Regions from separate parts of the Homo sapiens genome. Here all the other regions are linked to region 2. Evidence: promoter capture Hi-C in 16 types of primary human blood cells and fetal thymus (Javierre and others, 2016). All regions are on one chromosome and are shown on one strand. Each heading gives the region's core, a stretch centred on a gene start or on the middle of the fragment in contact. The rest is flanking DNA. Distances are from core to core; before and after follow the strand shown. Region 1 overlaps DYNLT1 (dynein light chain Tctex-type 1). Region 2 holds the start of TAGAP (T cell activation RhoGTPase activating protein). Region 3 has its middle 2.3 kb from the start of TMEM181. Region 4 overlaps SYTL3 (synaptotagmin like 3). Region 5 overlaps SYTL3 (synaptotagmin like 3).

Region 1 (2,700 bases), core at 144-2,643, 410 kb after region 2:
AATACTTTCTAGCCTCAACAGGAAAAAAAATGTATTAATAGTAGTGAACATGAAATGTGATTATTAGGTCAAAATGTGTAAATAATTTGACAGACTATGAATTTTTGAAGCAAATTTCAAACTTATTTAAATGAAATATAATGCTATTAAAAGTATATTTGCAAAGGCACCCTCATGATTAAAAATAAACTTTTCATAAATCACTTCTTGGGGTGCCGTCAGTTCCTGATTGAAAGGTGGTGTGGGTGCATTTGGTTAACCGGGACGCGCTTTGTGCTTTGTTTTCTAGGCTATAGAAAGCGCAATTGGTGGTAACGCTTATCAACACAGCAAAGTGAACCAGTGGACCACAAATGTAGTAGAACAAACTTTAAGCCAACTCACCAAGCTGGGAAAACCATTTAAATACATCGGTAATGGAGTCTTGTTTCTTTTATATTTGCGGGATGGTTTTTTAACACTGATCAGAGGGGCATCCAGTACCAGAAACAACAGCTAACGTGGCTCAACTCAAGGAAGGCTCCTGGTGGGAGTCGGTCGTGTGTGTAGTATACGTTAGCGTACGCTTGACCATTTGGCTGCTGGTACAATTGCAGATCGTATGTGAAGCGGGATCTTACAGGAGGTCCCATCAGATGCTTTTAGAACAAGTGAAGCATAGAGGAAGTGTGGACAGCCCCCAGCTGACAGTGGCTCAACTTAGAATTTTTCAACTTTGATGGATTTACCAGGGTATTAAGTGCATTTGCAACTTACATTTTCATATATTGTTGATTTATGATGGGTTTATGGGATGTTGTAAGTCAAGGAGCACCTATAATTTGTCAATATAGTGAGACAAGGCAATCTGTCCCTATAATTTTTATCGAGAACATCAACCACGTGGAGCTACATACATTGTACGTTTGCTAAAAGTGGACAGAATGACATTTGTGTTACCCAGTAGACTTCTCTAACAAAAATTTGTTTTAACTTAAGTGACCTGTGTAATTATGCAGAAGAATGGAGCTGGATTACACACAGCAAGTTCCTGCTTCTGGGACAGCTCTACTGACGGTATGATTTTCATTCATGTTTGTGAAGTTTTGTTGTGTGAAATATATGACTGGAAGTTTCCTATCTTTGAATGCAATGCATGTTTATCACCTTTTAAAACATTTAATAATAGACTTGCCAAGGTTCTTTGTGTAGCATAGAGATGGGTACTTGAATGTTGGCCTTATTGTGAGTAAAACGTCGTCCCCCAGCTTTCCCTGCCGTAAATGCTGCTCTCTTCCCTCCCGCAGGGAGCTGCACTGTGCGATGGGAGAATAAGACCATGTACTGCATCGTCAGTGCCTTCGGACTGTCTATTTGACCTGCAGTCCAGCCTATGGCCTTTCTCCTTTTGTCTCTAGTTCATCCTCTAACCACCAGCCATGAATTCAGTGAACTCTTTTCTCATTCTCTTTGTTTTGTGGCACTTTCACAATGTAGAGGAAAAAACCAAATGACCGCACTGTGATGTGAATGGCACCGAAGTCAGATGAGTATCCCTGTAGGTCACCTGCAGCCTGCGTTGCCACTTGTCTTAACTCTGAATATTTCATTTCAAAGGTGCTAAAATCTGAAATCTGCTAGTGTGAAACTTGCTCTACTCTCTGAAATGATTCAAATACACTAATTTTCCATACTTTATACTTTTGTTAGAATAAATTATTCAAATCTAAAGTCTGTTGTGTTCTTCATAGTCTGCATAGTATCATAAACGATTTCTTCATAGTGAGTGGCTACAGAATCTATACAACCAGACCAGGCGCAGTGGCTCACACCTGTAATCCCACCACTTTGGGAGGCTGAGGCAGGCGGATCATGAGGTCAGGAGATCAAGACCATCCTGTCTAACACGGTGAAACCCCGTCTCTACTAAAAATACCAAAAATTAGCCAGGTGTGGTGGCGGGCGCCTGTAGTCCCAGCTACTCGGGAGGCTGAGGCAGGAGAGTGGCATGAACCCAGGAGGCAGAGGTTGTAGTGAGCCAAGATCGTGAGCCAAGTTCCCGCCACTGCACTCCAGCCTGGGTGACAAGAGCAAGAGTCCGCCTCAAAAAAAAAAAAAAAAAAAAAAAAAAAAAATATATATATATATATATACAACCAAAAAAAAAAAAGTTCTGCTGTGGTCCTCTCCATGATGTACTCATTTTACCCGTGGGACCAGGATCCTGACGGCTCTGCTGGGTTCTGGTTAGATTCCTACCCCTCGGCATCACACCTCCCATTCTTAAGCCCTCCTCTTCTAGAGGTGAAGGGGTGGGAGGTGGGCAAACCAATTTCTATTCTCTTAGCCAGAGAGCTCTAACTCACACTTGGCCCAAAGCTGTAACACCTTAACTGTTAATCCTGTGTTCTCTGTAGGGCTCACAAATTGTCTTAGTACTTCAGAGCTTACAAAATGGTTTTCACAATCATTCATTCTGTGTCTTCAACAATTTGCAGTCATTTAAAAATCTCAGAAAATGTGTTTGGAGGTTATCTGATTGGTTTAAAGTCACACATCCAAGTTGGGAGCTGGGCCCAAACCCACGCCTTGTCTCCATCTTGAGTGCTCTTCCCCAGGCCACATTAGACATGGCAATAAAGATACCTCCGTGCCTGCCTGCTGAAATGGAAAAGCCCTGCCGTTGTCTCCAAAGCCGCTTTATTAAAGCATTTATGTCTG
Region 2 (2,700 bases), core at 59-2,558:
CCTCTCTGTGCTTCGGTTTCCCAAAGTCTGCCCCATAATCACCTCCTTTCAGTAAAATGACAAAAGAACTGACAATGCGGAAAAGTCTTAAAATTAAAGATGCTGATGATAAATGAAGCCAAGTTATTTTAAAACTTTTTATTGAAAAATTACATAAATAGGGAAGTGTGCACATAAGCCTAGCACCACCCAGATCAAGAATGGACCATCACCAAGCCCCCCGCTGGCCCCTGGAAGTCATTACCATCCCCTCTGGGAAACTGCTACTCTTGCTTCCAACAGCACAGACGACTTTTGCTAATTTTGTGCTTTGCATTAATGGGAGCCGGCAGGATATACACTTTCACGTCTGGCTTCTTTTGCTCAGCGTCATATTATGAGATCCAACCATATTGTTGGCTATAGTCATAGGCTGTTCATTATCAGTGCTATACAACATTCATTCCCTATGTGAATGGATCACAATTTATGCATCCATTCTCGTGTCGAGGCATTTGAGTGGTTTCATATATAGCCCTTGATCTACAGAAAAGATCAGAAATTCTCTTATGCAGAAGAGTGATCCACAAATGAAATTCACCATCTCTTTCCTACTTTAAGTTGGTCTGATCAAAGGAATTTTTTTGTTTGTTTTCCTTCCGTGTCAGAACGACAGCTGCTCTGACTGTAAATTAAGTATCAATACTTTTGACCAGGAGTTACAGAAAGGAGGAGGGGGTTACTATATTGACAACTGACTCGAGGGAGTTTTCTTTCTACTTCCAAAGGAAACTAACCTGGCTTTGGACGGTGATTGTTCCTCAAGGAAGGGACTGTCTTGGGTTTCTTTCTGGTTCTGTAACAGTGTCCCACATCCAGGGGTGCTAATCAACGTGTGGTGCTGGTGGACAGAGCAGATGGCACGTGGGAGGGGAAAGAGCACCCAAACAGGATGCAAAAAGAGGCACTTGAAATTACCACTTTAGAAAATAAAGTGATGTTTATGCACAGAATAACACAATTTCTTGTTCACACATCCCACCTATGACATTAATCAGAGCCTTCACCTATGGGCTGAATGTCATGTTTTCCACTCCTAGTAGTTTACAGATTTTTTACTTTGAAGTGGAAGACACAAAAAAAAAAAAAAAAAAAAAAAAAAAAAAAGACATAGCTGCCCTAAAAGGAATGAGGAAGCGAGAGCTCTCCAGTGTCTGGCTGGCTCCGTCCGTGTGACAGCCCATGATGTTCTTTCCGGTCTCTGTAATATTCTGAATTTCCACCTGCCCGCCCCTTCGCTTATAATGCAGAGCATGTGAAGGGAGACCGGCTCGGTCTCTCTCTCTCCCAGTGGACTAGAAGGAGCAGAGAGTTATGCTGTTTCTCCCATTCTTTACAGCTCACCGGATGTAAAAGAACTCTGGCTAGAGACCCTCCAAGGGTAAGTACACTATATATTAACATGCCTAGAAATTACAAGCTGCCTCGCAAGTCACAGGTCACTCAGATCACAGGCAACAGAAAACAGCTATCCCGTGGAATATGCTCTCACTTTATAAAGTCTCAGGACAAAGCTTTGCTTCAACGTGAAGGCTGCACCTTTTTGGTGTAGGAGTTCTGTAAATGTTATCTTTGTTTCATGTTTACTATTTTAGCATCCTAGGGATATGTTTTTTTTTTTTTCCTTTTTGGATTAGATGAGAAAATCCATGCAAAGCACCTACTACGACAGCTGGCATATAGTCAGCACTCCACCAAAAAAGTTAATGTTCATGTTAATTTAAAATGTTAACGTAATTGATATCCAGATTATCTCTTGATGGAACGGAATAAATTGGTAACAACGTTTAGAGTGGTAAAGATAGTTGACTTAAATAATTTAGAAATAATTGTGTTCAGATGCTGCTCTTAACAACATACAACATCTGGTAACAGAACTGATTTTAAATGAAAACTTGTCTATGTAATAGTTTTTTCCAAAGTAAAGGCAAGTGAAAAAATAGCAAAAGAGAAAAATAAATAAATAGTTTCAAACTCTGTGCTTTGGCAAAGTGGCGCTGAAAGTGGCCTACTGTGTGAGTCCCTCCTAACTCCTTTCCATGTGATTCGTTGTAGACAGAGGCACAGCCACACGGGAGTGAAATCCACCCCTGGACAGTCAGCCGCAATACTGATGAAGCTGAGAAGCAGCCACAATGCTGTGAGTGCCCCTCTCACATTCATTCATTCACGTTTCCTACAGGCAAGGGCCAAAAGATATTTACCTAATTTTATTTTTTCTCTTTTAGTCAAAAACACTAAACGCCAATAATATGGAGACACTAATCGAATGTCAATCAGAGGTAAGAAAGCAATTTTTAAGACTTTTTATCTGTACTGTGAGAAGGTGGAAAACTTTGTTTTAATTGAATATTATTTGGGTTGAATAGTAATTATAAGAGTAGTAAACTAACATCACACATGTAGTAAATTAAGCACATTAATTAGGATCTTATATGATGACAATCAAGACCTTAATATTGCTTCTAGAAGCTAGAAAAAACATCAATGCACTCTACTGACTTCATTTTTAATATGAATAAAATGCTGTATGTGTGTTTTGTGGGGAAAGACTCGATAGGTTTCTTCAGTCACTATATTTAACTGAAATAAAAATGTTTTTAGGGTGATATCAAGGAACATCCCCTGTTGGCATCATGTGAGAGTGAAGACAGTATTTGC
Region 3 (2,700 bases), core at 179-2,678, 490 kb after region 2:
AGCAAAGCACACCCTAAGCCAGGACACCAAGGAATAGTTACACAAAATCTCATTAGTGCTCTGAATCCTAAACCGCAACTCTTCAAGGAATAACAAAAGATTATTTCTTAAGTTCTTTTCATACATAAGCAGAGGGAAAGGGTTCTTCATAGCAACAAGACCGGAGAACAGAAACTGGGTACCTGCAGGGACAGACTGTTCACAGGGACGTGGGGCGCGGGAAGGGGTGAGTCGGAGGGAGTTCTATGAGCTAGAGCAGGGGTCCCCAACCCCGGAGCCTGTTAAATTACAGACGTGAGCCACCGCAACCAGCCCAAACATGCGTTTTCATGCAACACCTTCTGTTAAATGTTTAGGCCTGAGGATGCCTCCCTACTTGAGTCCTTACATAAGGAGCTGCAGCCTGGCATAGTTAACATAAAAGAGAAGACACCCTAATTGAGGAGGATGCTTTTGTAACAAACAGCTGAGTCTCAGCCAATCACAGCCAGTGAGCTTCTGTCATTGGCAGGTGGTTAGCTGATTCAAATAAGCTAGAACATAAACCTGTAACCAGTTAAGCTGTCTCTGCGCCTCAGTTCCACTTTCTGTCCATAAATGTTGTCTAACCACGTTGCAGCCCCAAAGTCCTTTGAACCTGTTGGTTCTGAGGGCTGCCCGATTCTAGAATCATGAAGAAAAGCTACTTAGGATCTTTAAATTTGCTGTCATTTTGTCTTTCGACACTTCTGATTCTAAAATGTTGGAAACTAATTCGAAAAAATATCTTAAACCCTGGGAGGGACTAAACAAAGCACATTTGCTGGCCACATTTGCCTAGAGGCAGCCAGTATCTACCTCCAGCCCAGAGCAGCATGAGATGATGTGGAAATCCCTGCTCTGTGCCAGCTGCCTGGTCTCTCCTGAGGCATCTCCAGCGAGAGGAAACTGTCACCACCCCGAGGACCCCTGGCCCTCACTGTGTGCATTTGACTCCAAACTACCTCCTGGCAATTCCTTCCTGTCAGATCTCCCTGGATTTGCTGTCCAGCGTCACCCAGGTCAGCATGAGCCCTCTCCCAACACTCCTTCAAGGATGTGAACAACCACATGGCCCTCAGCTCCTCTTCTCCCGTCATACTCGTTTTCTCATTTATTTGTTCTTCAAACATTAATGGAGCAGTGTGTGTGTGCCAGGAACAACTCTCAGCTCTGGAAACACAACACGAATAGACAGATGAGGTCCCTGTCCTTTTCTAGTCAAGAACAAACAATAACCTAAATAATTACTTAATTGACCGGGCATGGGCATGGTGGCTCACGCCTATAATCCCAGCACTTTGGGAAGGTGAGGCGGGGATCACCTGAGCTCAGGAGTTCAAGACCATCTTGGCCAATATGGCGAAATCCATCTCTACTAAAAATACAAAAATTAGCTGGGCGTGATGGCGGGTGCCTGTAATCCCAGGTACTTGGGAGGCTGAAGCAGGAGAATTGCTTAAACCCAGGGGGTGGAGCTTGCAGTGAGCCAAGATCACGCCACTGCACTCCAGCCTGAGCAACAGAGCAAGACTCTGTCTCAAATAAATAAATAAATAAATAAATAAATAATTACAGCTGTGATAGAAAAGGAAATGAAAGGTGCTATGATCATGTTATGAAAAGGGGAAAGGGACCCAAACTATTCTGGGCTCTAAGAAGCCTGGTGTGATCTATCAGCCATTTCTCACATGACCTGTTTGTTTTTGAGACAGAGTCTCCCTGTCACCCAGGCTAGAATGCAGTGGCGCAATCTCGGCTCACTGCAGCCTCTGCCTCCCACTCAAAAGATCCTCCGGCCTCAGTCTCCCATGTAGCTGAGACTACAGGTGTGCACTAACACAACCAGCTAATTTTGTATTTTTTGTAGAGACAAGGTTTCACTATGTTGTCCAGGCTGGTCTTGAACTCCTGGGCTCAAGCAGTCTGCCTGCCTCAGCCTCCCAAAGTGCTGGGATCCTAGGAGGTGCACCGCCTTTGGAGATAAGCTACTGTGAAAGTTGTCAGAATTAAAATGGAGTCACTTGTATTAAAAACAGGCCAGGTGCAGTGGCTCATGCCTATAATCCCAGCACTTTGGGAGGCTGAAGAGCACGGATCACTTGAGCTCAGGAGTTTGAGACCAGCTTGGCCAACAAAATACAAAAATTACCTGAGTGTGGTGGCAGGTGCCTGTAATCCCAGCTAGTCATGAGGCTGAGGCAAGAGAATCACTTGAACCCAGGAGGCAGAGGTTACAGTGAGCCAAGATGGCGTCACTGCACTCTAGCCTGGGCAACAGAGCGAGACTCCATCTCAAAAAAAATACCAAAAACAATCCTGACAAATAGAGCCAGAGAACACCATGAAGAGGATTCTCGTGCATAAATGCTTGATAACAAAAACCATAACAAAAGACTATAAAAACCATAACCTTGCACAAAGACCATCGCAATCTTACACTTTTGCGAGGACATCTGCCCAGTAACTGCCTGTCCAACGCGAGACTGGCATCCCCCTTGTGAGTGATCCTTGTAGCCAAGAATAATTAACTCAAAACAATTATGTAATCCTCCCCATTGTTCCTTTAAAAACCTTCATCTTTCTATACCTCCCTGAAAAGGCACATAGTTCACTATGGCACATATATTCCCATTGCAATGCCCTATTCCTGGATAAATATCATTTCTTTTAGAGAGCCTC
Region 4 (2,700 bases), core at 91-2,590, 360 kb after region 2:
GAGACAGGATCTCACTATGCTGCCCAGGCTAGTCTTGAACTCCTGGGCTCAAGCGATCCTCCTGCTTTGACCTCCCAAAATGCTGGGATTACAGGCATGAGCCACTGAGCCTGGCGTCTAGTTTTTTACGTGAATGTAATTTGAAATCATGCTTCAAAGCTCAGAATGTAATGGGGGCCAGAGTGTGGGAAGAAGGAAATTTGTGTACCCTGCCAGCCTGTTGTAAATAAGCACACACTCCCAGAGGGTAATTTGGCAAAACATCAAAAGCCTTTCAAGTATTCATACACTTGACCAATCATTCTTCTAAGAATTTACCCCCCAAAAATAAACAGACATGTCAAAATACCTGTACAAGACGTTCATCACAGAGTTATCTATAACATGAAAAATCAAATACAGTGATATACTCACAGACACTCGGGAACAGGTTAAATAAACTATAGTGCATATATTTGGTGTATTTTATGGAGTCATCAATACATTTTGGAAGAAGTCTTAATAACATAGGAAAATGTTTATGCCAAGTTGAATTGTAAAAGCAAAATAAAACCACATAGAGTCTGATCACAATACATTTGAAATTGGATAAGTCTATCTGTGCACACACATATACACAGGCTTACCTAGAAAGAAGGCTGGGAGTGTGCAGGTGTGTACACGTGCATGTAATTTACAGTAGTTTGGGATTGTGGTAGTATTTCCATTACATCTAAATACTATTCTGTGTTTCCCAAATGCTTGCAAGGTTTGCATTACTTCTGTAATCAGAAAGTAAGTAACTTCCTTTCAAAGAGAAAAGGAAGCTCCCTCTCTTCACAGAATAGAAGATGGACCAAGGGGGAAGCAGTTAGGAGCTGCTACGTTGGAAGTGAGAATGAAGGGCAGAGGAAGATTCCAGAGACTCAGGAGGCAGAAATGTCAGGATTTGCTGACTGACCAGATGTAGCGGCAGAATGAGGAACAAAGGAGTCAAGTTTGATTCTCAGGTCTGTGGATTTGGAGACAGAGTGAGAGGTGTCGCCATTCTCCCAAGACAAGGAACACAGGATTTGGTAGCACACAGACGGTCCCAGTGATTCTTGCTTCCTGATATTCAGACCCTTTGTCCTCTCTGACTAGGGCTGACCTGTGGGACCCATAGGGCATAGCAGAAATGACAGGGTGTGGCTTCTGAAGCTAGACCATAAAAGATATTGTGGGCTCTGCTTTTCTCTCTCTTGGATCACTTGCCCTGGGAGAAGCCAGCCGCCATGTCATGAGGACACTCAAGCAGCCCTGTGGAGATATCCCCATGGTGAGGAACCAAGTCCTCCTCCCAATACCAGCAGTCACTGGCCAGGTATGAGGGTAAGCCCCAAGAGCACAGATCCCCCAGCCCCAGGCGAGCCTTCCACTGAAGACAGAAACTGTCAAAGAATGTTACTTGATTTATGTCACTAGGTTTGAGGGGAATTTGCTATACAGCAATAGATAACCAGTGCGTGGAAAGAGGCACAGACTGGAGCTGTCTGTACACTTTTGTGGTTTAAACCACCATCTAGTTTTTCTAACTTCTGCTCAGGATATAGAGGGCTGGAAAGAGTATTGCCGGTACCATGACAACAAAAACACTAGAGAACATGCAAAACCACTTTTTCCGGAACACATCAGAGAATTGAGGTTGCAGTTGCCTCCCTATTAGGGTCCAGTGGGGGCTTCCAGAGGGAGACCAGGGCCAGGAGGAGGGAGAAGGGGCTCATGCCTTCCTTCCGACCTGTGTCTGGCCAGCATCAGCTCAACAGGGTCGGAGGGTGTCTGCCTCCTGCAGCTGCTAGCTCTGTTCTCTCACTATTCCCTTTTTGCCTCCAATTCCTGTCTAACCAATCCCTAAAGTAAATTCTTATTCAAATAACCAGACAGTTTCTATTTCCCTAAGTGGATCTTAACTGCTGCAGCACAAATTCAATTCAACTCCTCAATGACTGCACCTGGTTCTCTTTTAGGGCCACAAATAGGAGCGTGGTGGAATTCCTGCCTGTCCACCTAAACCTCTGTCACCTGATCCTTGTTACCTTTCCTGACGCACCCGCTGCAAACTCCACCCAACCTGGTCTGGCTCATAGCACTACTTGTGTGCTCCTAACCTGGCATTTTCCCCCATAGTTCCATGCCTCTTACCCCAACTCTACTGAAACAGGACAATGGGAAAATGAGGCACCCTGGCATTTGAGGAAGCATTGTAGAGAAGGAGGGAAAGTTAGGGCTTTTCTGGTGTTTATTTTATACATTGATAGAAACGACATCAGCAAAAAAGAATGATTTATGCTGAGGTTGATCTTCCTGACCCTGGTTTGTTTGTCCTTACTGAAGTTTTTATTCTTAAAGTTATAAGGCAAGAAAGAAAACCCTAAGACATCAGTCTCACCTCTTTCCTAATTCCCTTTTTATCTTAAGTCACCTTGATAACATACTTCTCCCACTCACTCAGGAGACATGAAGTGCTGAAAAGATGACAAGATGGTAACGTGTGTGCACAAACACACACACATACATTCATGCACACATGAAAACTACTTACCTGAAATAATGATGCTAGAACTTCTAACGACGTAGAAAACTTTTTGAGTGAAGCAGATGTCTGCACTTAGCTGGCATTGAGAAATGACAAACTTCACCTCCTACAGCACTACTGTTTATAAGCTAGGAATTGATGTGGAA
Region 5 (2,730 bases), core at 41-2,540, 340 kb after region 2:
GGTCCTTAGCCAGGCTGGCCATAGCGAGTGCAGGAGTCTTTGAAATCATGGCTAAAGTTCCGAGTCCACCTGCCTGTGTGCATTTTCTGGGGTTCATCTGGGGGACATCTGGCTTTCACAGGATTCTATAAGGCACCTGTGACCCTTCCCCTCCCCATTAAGAAATACTTCCCTAAGACAGAATGAAAAGGTACAACACAGTCTTGCCTGAAGCCCGGGCACTCAACTAGTAGGACCAGCTGGTCAGGGACCAAAGCTAGCACCTGCAGGAGCCCCCTGAGAGAAAACATCCAGGTCCAAGCAAAAAACAGCCTGACTGCAGTGTGCTGGCCATGGAAGCAAGAGAAAAACAGCCACGCTGCTCATCCTGCCCATCCTGGGGCGAGCACAGACCTGGGAGACAGCTGGTGCACAGCAGTCTGCGGGCGGCAATATACCACAGGGTGCTCCTGTCTCTGGATCCCCCTGCCCTATGTGGCCTTACAGCCATCACTGTCACCCTGTTCCTGGGTCCCCCATGCCCTACGTGGCCTTACAGCCCTCACCTATCACCCTGTCCCCAGGTCTATGTGACCTTACAGCCCTCACTGTCACCCTGTCCCCAGGTCTATGTGACCTTACAGCCCTCACTGTCACCCTGCCCCGAGTCCCTCCTGCTCTATGTGACTTTCCAGATCTCACTGTTACCCTGCCCCCAGGTCCCCCCCCGCTGCTCTATGTGACCTTACAGCCCTCAGTGTTACCCTGCCCCGGGTTCTTCCTGTCCTACGTGGCCTTATAGCCCTGTCACCCTGTCCCCAGGTCCCTCCTGCCCTATGTGACCTTACGGCCCTCAGTGTTACCCTGCCCCGGGTTCCTCCTGTCCTACGTGGCCTTACAGCCCTCACTGTCACCCTGCCCCGGGTCCCTCCTGCCCTATGTGGCCTTACAGCCCTCACTGTCACCCTGTCCCCAGGTCCCTCCTGCCCTATGTGGCCTTACAGCCCTCACTGTCACCCTGTCCCCAGGTCCCTCCTGCCCTATGTGGCCTTACAGCCCTCACTGTCACCCTGTCCCCAGGTCCCTCCTGCCCTATGTGGCCTTACAGCCCTCACTGTCACCCTGCCCTGGGTCCCTCCTGCCCTATGTGGCCTTACAGCCCTCACTGTCACCCTGTCCCCAGGTCCCTCCTGCCCTATGTGGCCTTATAGCCCTCACTGTCACCCTGCCCCGGGTCCCTCCTGCCCTATGTGGCCTTACAGCCCTCACTGTCACCCTGCCCCGGGTCCCTCCTGCCCTATGTGGCCTTACAGCCCTCACTGTCACCCTGCCCTGGGTCCCTCCTGCCCTATGTGGCCTTACAGCCCTCACTGTCACCCTGCCCTGGGTCCCTCCTGCCCTATGTGGCCTTACAGCCCTCACTGTCACCCTGCCCTGGGTCCCTCCTGCCCTATGTGGCCTTACAGCCCTCACTGTCACTCTGTCCCTGGTTGTGGCAACAGTATCCTGAGGCACAGTCACCAAAAAGCCACATCCCTCTTAGAGAATCTGAGGCTATCACACTACCACCTGGAACCCTTCAGTGACTCCCTATGGCGTGGTCTGAAGTCCAGGCCCACGTGGCTTCCGGGGTGCCCCACCCTGCGGGGTCACCCCTCCGCCTGCAGGCCTTGCCCTTTCACTCCAGCAAACCAATTGTCCCTTATTGCCCTGCCTACCCGGTGAGGCCGGCCCTGCCTGCACGATTACTGTCACCCCCACCTCGTCTCCTCCTGCTATCCCCCACGGGCAGTTCTGCCTCAGGTCCACATCTCAGACCCCAGCTAGGAAACCTCCGCTTCGGCCCGGGTCGCAAATCCCCCGCGTCCCCGCTGCGGCTCCTGCACGGACCGGGCGTGCGCGTGGCTTTCTGCTGCCCCCTGCCGGCTGCAGCGACGCGGGGCACAGGCGGGGCCTGGGTCAAGGCTGGAGAGGGAACGTTGCACTGTGCTGGCCCCAGGGAGGGGCCCGTCACAGCTGCTCAATTCCGCCCTATGACAGCAGCCACAGACAGTAATAAAGGGCAGGCGTGCCCGTTCCCACGAAACTTCATGGGCACTGAAATTTGAATGTGTCACAAAGATTATTCTTTTGTTTTTTTTTTTAACCATTTAAAAATGTAAAACCCGGCCAGGTGTGGTGGCTCACATCTGTAATCCCAGCACTTTGGGAGGCTGAGGCAGGCGGATCACTTGAGGCCAGAAGTTCGAGACTAGCCTGGCCAACATGATGAAACCTCGTCTCTACTAAAAATACAAAGATTAGCCTAGCCGGGCATGAGGTCACACGCTTGTAATCGCAGCTACTCGGGAGGCTGAACTCAAGAGGCAAAGGTTGCAGTGAGCCCAGATTACACCACTGCACTCCAGCCTGGGAGATAGAATGAGACTCCATCTCAAAATAATAATAATAATAATAATAATAATAATAATGATAATAATATAAAACCCACTCTTAGTTCACAGGACATATGAAAGCATGCAGGGGGACCCGCAGGTCCCACTCTGCCCCCTGCCTCACTGCCCCAGTTGTGGGCTGTTGCTCTCAGCAGGGCAGGGGTTGCTAGAGACACAGAGCCCCAGGCAGCCTCCAGCCTGCAGAGCCCCAATCCCATTGGAGCAAGATCCGGGCAGATTTGAGAACTCAAGGAAGTTGGAGCAGCACTGCCCTGTGTGGCTTTTACCAGCCCACTGTTGACTGTCATTTCACTTC

What was found. Contacts are between HindIII fragments. The CHiCAGO score rates a contact against its expected background, and 5 or more counts as called.
Region 1: a contact is called between a fragment that was not itself captured here and the fragment with the promoter of TAGAP in region 2, in 6 of 17 cell types (total CD8 T cells, non-activated CD4 T cells, neutrophils and 3 more). The highest score is 8.1, in total CD8 T cells.
Region 3: a contact is called between a fragment that was not itself captured here and the fragment with the promoter of TAGAP in region 2, in 2 of 17 cell types (neutrophils and non-activated CD4 T cells). The highest score is 5.9, in neutrophils.
Region 4: a fragment that was not itself captured here is called in contact with the fragment with the promoter of TAGAP in region 2 in 9 of 17 cell types (neutrophils, naive CD8 T cells, naive CD4 T cells and 6 more); the score reaches 11.2 in neutrophils.
Region 5: a contact is called between a fragment that was not itself captured here and the fragment with the promoter of TAGAP in region 2, in 7 of 17 cell types (naive B cells, M2 macrophages, fetal thymus and 4 more). The highest score is 6.2, in naive B cells.

What each region holds. Positions count from the first base shown.
Region 1 is chr6:158,635,484-158,638,183 of GRCh38, reverse strand. It overlaps DYNLT1 (dynein light chain Tctex-type 1), which reads left to right. Exons shown (of 5, transcript NM_006519.4): 3 at 290-413; 4 at 979-1,056; 5 at 1,287-1,710. The coding sequence ends at 1,357. Among named protein-coding and RNA genes, the nearest start is that of DYNLT1, 7.9 kb to the left of the region's middle. The HindIII fragment of the contact is 4,116 bases long and covers 1-2,700 here.
Region 2 is chr6:159,043,599-159,046,298 of GRCh38, reverse strand. It overlaps TAGAP (T cell activation RhoGTPase activating protein), which reads left to right and starts at 1,308. Exons shown (of 10, transcript NM_054114.5): 1 at 1,308-1,420; 2 at 2,095-2,179; 3 at 2,268-2,321; 4 at 2,644-2,700. The coding sequence starts at 2,153. The HindIII fragment of the contact is 8,846 bases long and covers 1-1,555 here.
Region 3 is chr6:158,556,396-158,559,095 of GRCh38, reverse strand. It overlaps a transcript of TMEM181 not described here. Among named protein-coding and RNA genes, the nearest start is that of TMEM181, 2.3 kb to the left of the region's middle. The HindIII fragment of the contact is 3,429 bases long and covers 1-2,700 here.
Region 4 is chr6:158,685,897-158,688,596 of GRCh38, reverse strand. All of the region lies in intron 6 of SYTL3 (synaptotagmin like 3), which reads right to left. Among named protein-coding and RNA genes, the nearest start is that of SYTL3, 37 kb to the right of the region's middle. RefSeq lists a silencer at 1,354-1,554. The HindIII fragment of the contact is 8,716 bases long and covers 1-2,700 here.
Region 5 is chr6:158,703,543-158,706,272 of GRCh38, reverse strand. All of the region lies in intron 6 of SYTL3 (synaptotagmin like 3), which reads right to left. Among named protein-coding and RNA genes, the nearest start is that of SYTL3, 55 kb to the right of the region's middle. RefSeq lists an enhancer at 1,374-1,423. The HindIII fragment of the contact is 2,954 bases long and covers 1-2,730 here.